Regions from separate parts of the Homo sapiens genome. Here region 2 is linked to region 1. The links are contacts of gene promoters, found by promoter capture Hi-C in blood cells and fetal thymus (Javierre and others, 2016). All regions are on one chromosome and are shown on one strand. Each heading gives the region's core, a stretch centred on a gene start or on the middle of the fragment in contact. The rest is flanking DNA. Distances are from core to core; before and after follow the strand shown.

Region 1 (3,014 bases), core at 376-2,875:
GGGATTATTGGAGGCTGTCCTGTGCTTGGTTAAAGAAATCTGTAGAAAGTTTGAGAATTGCTCTTCACAGTGGTCCTTCCAGGTTTGACTGGTAATTCTAAATGAATAAAATCATCCTCAGGGAGATTTAACTGGCAGTCTGATGCATAAGAGGGATGAAGAATATAGCATTTTTATCTGGAAGCTTTACGTACTGGAGATTCCAAGGTGAGGTGGATCGGTTGTAGTAATCTGAGGACCTTTTGGGATTGGTATTGGTATTCCGGTTATGGATGTTCAGGTTGACCATCACAGTCCGGGGGAAGTTCTTGTCCTCAGAATTTGGGCATCCTGGATTTCGTGGGATTGTGATTCCTGCCTTCACTATGGCCTCCAGGCTCAGCAGCAGTAGCAGTGACTAGAATTGAATGGGAAAGGAGAGAGAGGTTGGAGATTAGATTACTATGTGGTTCTTTTTGACAAATTAATTGTGATGATGATGCATTGCTAATCATAGAGAACACACAATGTTCCAGGACAATCTATACTACATTTTTCAGATCAGCTAGAGAAAAATCTAGGTAGATGACCAACATAATGTTAACACCATGGCTTTAAAATTTTTTTAAAAAAACTAGTTTCAACATTCTCCTTTTGACTTAGGAAAGACATGTTATCCATTGGTTGGCAATAATTTTAATAAAAATGTCAAGTCATGGCATGTCATTAGCCTATCAGCACATGCATCATTGTCAGGTCTGGGAAGGAATAATAACCTTGATTTTCTAGGTAGAAATATCCTCCTGCACCATTGTTCTCAGTCCCATATTCTGTGAAACTCATCGTGAAGTCAAACATTCACATTGGAAGAAAGAGCTATAGAAAATCTATGTGGTATCAATATTCATGCTAGAAGTGCTGTTGGTGCTACTGGCAGGCATCCAACTAAAAACTCGATCTCCTTCATGTTTTCTTAGGTATATTTTCCAGTTGTTCTAAATTTAACATGTATTGATTCTGTAATAAAATCAGATTTCAAAAAAGATACTTGAAGTTAAATATTTAAAAAATATAAACCCCACTTATTCTAAAACACAGTTATACCTATGTTTAGTTAGAATACATAGTTTCAATGTACTGAGAATATGGTACGAGATAATGGAAACAAAGGTTGTTGCTGCTACGGCTTTCAAAATCTCAAGGATAGTGACCCATTTTAAAGAAAAATGCCGTGGGAGAATTATATTAAATCCTTTGTACTCAGAAAAACAGACTTTCAATAAATTTTCTTTCTTACTGCACAGCATCATGTGACACTTCTTGTGTGGTTTAGCCCCAATATAGCTATCTTTCAGTTTTAATCTTATCTTTCAAACTGCTGTGTATCAGTTCTTGAAAATGCTGCACAATGACTTAAATACCTACCAAAGCTTTCATTTCCTATCCTACATATACAGTATTCCTGGATCTCCATAGTCAGAACCCAGCGTTTCATGCCCACGGTCCAGAAATACTATCTGGTCCAAATCAGCAAGAGCATCGCACGTTAGTGCAGGACTCACCACCAATGAGGTCTTCCCAGGAGTCATCGTTGTTTCTTCCAATCAACTGGGGATGGATGAGTTTGTGCCTGCTATGAGATGGACAAAATGTAGCGCTATCGTCTCTCTTTTTATAGGGCTTTTCTCCTTCTGTGGTCACTTACGTGGCGTGTCGCAGTGGGTTCAGGGGTGACACCATTTTGGTTAAAATTTCCGCCCCCAATGAGGTCATAGAAGAATCTCTCCTTCTGAAGGAAAATGGGAAGGGCAGAAATTCATGTTCCTAAAGACCATGTCCTCTTTTCATTCTTACTTGTTAGAAGCTGAGCAGAGCTGCTATGCTATGGGTCAATATCATGTATTTATGAACATATGTACAGCTGCCAGAAGAGTTATGCTCTATTTTAATGGTTCATGAGGAAGAAAAAGTTTGAAGTAACATGTAGGTCTTCTGGTGTCATGTACCTTGATTTTCCATTTGATCTTTCTTTTCCTCACAGATTCCTTGGCCAGGTGTTGTGGAGACAATTCCGGAAACTACTCAAGTTCCCATCATATAAGTAAACAAAAAATGAAAAAAATATTTAATAATAAGATATATCCTATTTAATTGAATTTAACAATTCTTTTGTTGAATATCTACTCTGCTCAAGGAATAAATAACTAGGTTCAAGAGACACGAGATTTTCTGTTAAAGGCATGTTCCAACCCTGCATGCTACCAAGCAACTTGGTGTTTTGAGGAAGGAATTGAAAATGGGGATAGAGACTGGACAAAGGTGATGGAGATGGAGAAAAGGGGGGCAGGGGGGAGTAGAGAGTGATGAGAACTAGAAAGGAGAGGAGACATGATGGGGGAAAGAGAGAAGGAGTTAGCGGTTCTTTTCTCTGTACTCTAAGTAAGATGAACTTGGACTCAGGTCCTTGAGAATAGTTCCTTCTCAGGAATACAGAGGACTAGGACAAGGAAGGGCCAGTGGATATAGATGTGGCTGGCTATATGTCACCCTTCTCCGCCCCTACCCCCACTGAGGTGAATGATAACTCTCAGGCACTCAGCTGGTATCCCATATTCTACATGCTAACTCGGGGGGAGGCTGGCCAGTAGTTCCAACTCAATGGCTGGAGTGTAAAATTAGTTTGCCGGATCCTGAACCTGTTTGTCCTGAGATCCATTCCTCCCTGTCCTGCTCTACCTGTAACTCAGAGGGCTGACCCTGGAGGCTGCTTGCTCAAACTCCCCTGTCAGCTGGGTTTCAGCTAGGCTCAGCCAAAAGGGAATTGGAGGACAGATGAGTAAAAGTGGGAAGTGGAAAGTGGAAAGTGGGGAGAAGCCAGGAGCTTCCTTCCTCAGTCTCCCAGAGGACTGCTCACTCCCTTTGTCCCTGCAGCCTTCAAATGGTAACAGCTTCTTGCTGATGGCAATCTCAACTACCAGGGTGACTAGTTCTCTGACTTAAACTCCCTCTGTTGCAAATGCCTGAAGGGGCTTCTC
Region 2 (2,937 bases), core at 161-2,660, 470 kb before region 1:
CTGTGGACATATAGAGACTTAAAGATTCCAAAGATTTGAACTGCAGGACAGCTATGACTTATTATCAGACTTTGTCCTTGACATTACAGACAAGATCTTCTCAAAGAAAGGGCTCTCTGCTAGAGGGCACATGGAGTTGATGGACATAAGGATAATTTCTGAACTCATATACAGGCTACACAAATTCATCAAAGACACAGCCATTGTGTAAAGAAAAAAAAATGTCACCATAATAGGAAGAGGTCAGAAAAAGGCTCAGATATCTCAAGTGCAATTACTATTCATTCATTTAAATGGAGTCCCTACTTATTCATTTAAAAAATAAAATAGGGAGAACTTAGGTGCAGTCCACGGGGGTTAGTCATTATGGGCAGTGCAGTGTGCTTTTTAGAATGTAGAGAAAGAAGGAACTTTTATATGGCGAAGCAATGAGTTTCCGGGTACTGGAGGTTTTCAATAACCAGACCCTGGACCACCACTTGGCAGGGATGTTGCAGAGGTGACTCAGGCACTACAAAGTAAGGTAGACTAGGTGAGCTTTGAGGATCTATCCAATCCTGAGTGCCTCTGGTGTCATGATCCTTCTCCAAGGTAAGATATAGAACTATCCTGGAGAGGAAGAACATAGGCAGGACAGATCCCAAGAAGCCTGAGCAAGGCACCAGGAAGGAGCCAGCTGACTGGAGAGGGCCTCCTTAGAATAAGTTGGATTTATGGAGCTGGGAAAGACTTTGGAGGAAGGCTATTCATGCTCTTGATAAAGAGATGGAGAAACTGTTAGTCAAATAAGCTGGGCTATAATGTATTAAAAAACAAAGTATGAAATCTCAGTGGTTTAACAGGAGGATAGTTTATTGCTCACTTGTGCAATTGCACATAGATGTTCCTGGTCAGTCAAGTGATGACTCAGTGATCCAGGTTCCTTCCATCTTGTCTGATGGCTCTTCAACACATGGCCTCTAAGGTCAATGTGAAAGGGAAACAGATTTTTGGAAAGGCACCCTGGATACTTAACATCCAAACCCAGAGCATGGCATGCAGCACTTTCCCTCACATCCATAAGCAGGATTGATCACACAGCCAACCTCATTGCAAGGGAAGCTGCAAAACAGGGAAGACCAAACAGACCCTGGTGTATACCAATAGTTTCTGCCACAAGAGATCAAGGCCCACAGGGATGCCATGATTTTGCTGTGACCATCGTGTTAATGTTGACAAAACTAAGAATTTATTCCCAATAGGATTTCTAATAGGGTTAAATGTGGTATAAGATGGTATTTGAAGCCTTCCATGACCTGGTCCTGGGAAATCCACCATCTTTTCTGCCACTCTCTGCCTGTCAGCTAATACCCCAATAAAATAGAACCGTTTATACTTCCCACCTCTACTTTTCTTGATATCTTTGCTCAGACTGCCCCTTATTTAGGAGTGAATACCTTCTGCCACTTTACCTAGCTTCTTCTACTTGTTCTTTCAGAATCAATTAAAACATCTGTTCTTCTTGAAAACTAATCTCAACCTCCTGATCTCCACTCCCCAGACTGGGCTAGGTATCCCTCTGTGCTCCCGCATTATCCTATCCATGTTTTTGTTTTAAATCATCATAGGGTATTTAACATCATGTCGTTATTCATTTATGATTCTATCTCCCTAACTAGATTGTGTACTCACTGCAAGGAAATGGCATCATTTTTTAAATTAACATACAGTAAAACTGACTTTTTTGGTATACAGTTTGTGAATTTTAACACATGTAAATTGATATTTTCTTGGTTCTTTGTATGCTGAATAACTTTGGATCATATCCTGGACATTTTGAATATTAGCTTGTGAGACTCTTGGTGTTATTTAAATCAGATGGAATGTTGACATTTTTGCTTTAGCCATCAGTCAAACCAGTTGATTTCAAGCTCCAAGTTCCGACCAACCTTCTGTGGGTTGCAGCTTCAATGTCAGTTCTGTTTGCAAAGGCTTTGCAGTGCAATGCAGATCCAGCTGATGTATATGCCACCTAGTGGCCAGTCTGGCACATGGGTAATGGTCTCTCCCATAGTTCAGTTCTCAAAGTTTAAAGATACGCTTTTCATGGTCAGATCTATGTATGCACCATTTGGGAATAAGCCGAAGTTTGTTCTTTCTTTCTTTTCTTTCTTTCTTTTCTTTTCTTTTCTTTCTTTCTTTCTTTCTTTCTTTCTTTCTTTCTTTCTTTCTTTCTTTCTTTCTTTTTCTTTCTTTCTTTTCTTTCTTTCTTTTTCTTTCTTTTTCTTTTTTCTCTTTCTTTCTTTCCTTCTTTCTTTTTCTTTCTTTCTTTTTCTCTCTCTCTTTCTTTCTTTCTTCCTTGTCTTTTCTTTTTCTGAGACAGGGCCTTGCTGTCTCACCCCGGCTGGAGTGCAATGTCATGATCATAGCTCACTGCAACCTGGAACTCCTGAACTCAAGCAGTCCTCCCACCTCAGCCTCTCAAGTAGCTGGGACTACAGATGTACACCACGATGCCCAGCTAATTTTAATTTTTTTTTGTAGGCACAGGGTCTCACTATGTTGTCTAGGCTAGTATCGAGCTCCTAGACTCAAGGGATCCTCCCTACTCAGCCTCCTGAAGTGCTGAGATTACAGGTGTGAGCCACTGCACCCACTCTCAAGTTTTTAAAACAACTTCATGGGGTCACTTTCCCAGCTCTCTCCTCTCTGAGATCTCCCTGGTACATTCTGGTTCCCTAAAGCCTAAAAGTCCCTTTTTGAGCCTAATCTGCTCTGCATTTCCCATAACTGGGCCCTTGTCTGGGGTTGTTGTGGTCACTCAACCAAAATGAAATGGGCCCCTCCCCAAAACAAAATTTAGTTTGGATATTGAGATCAATGATGCCACACATGCAACAAGAGGGGAAGAAGAGGCTTATCACTCACATGATGAAGCTTTCTGGGGAAAGCAGAAAG

Evidence for each region. Contacts are between HindIII fragments. The CHiCAGO score rates a contact against its expected background, and 5 or more counts as called.
Region 2: a contact is called between a fragment that was not itself captured here and the fragment with the promoter of IL17A in region 1, in 3 of 17 cell types (naive CD4 T cells, naive CD8 T cells and total CD8 T cells). The highest score is 6.6, in naive CD4 T cells.

The regions. Positions count from the first base shown.
Region 1 is chr6:52,184,986-52,187,999 of GRCh38, reverse strand. IL17A (interleukin 17A) reads right to left here and starts at 1,625. Exons shown (of 3, transcript NM_002190.3): 1 at 1,542-1,625; 2 at 195-397. The coding sequence starts at 1,568. The HindIII fragment of the contact is 1,880 bases long and covers 1,412-3,014 here.
Region 2 is chr6:52,651,304-52,654,240 of GRCh38, reverse strand. No RefSeq gene overlaps it. Among named protein-coding and RNA genes, the nearest start is that of TMEM14A, 18 kb to the left of the region's middle. The HindIII fragment of the contact is 3,016 bases long and covers 1-2,918 here.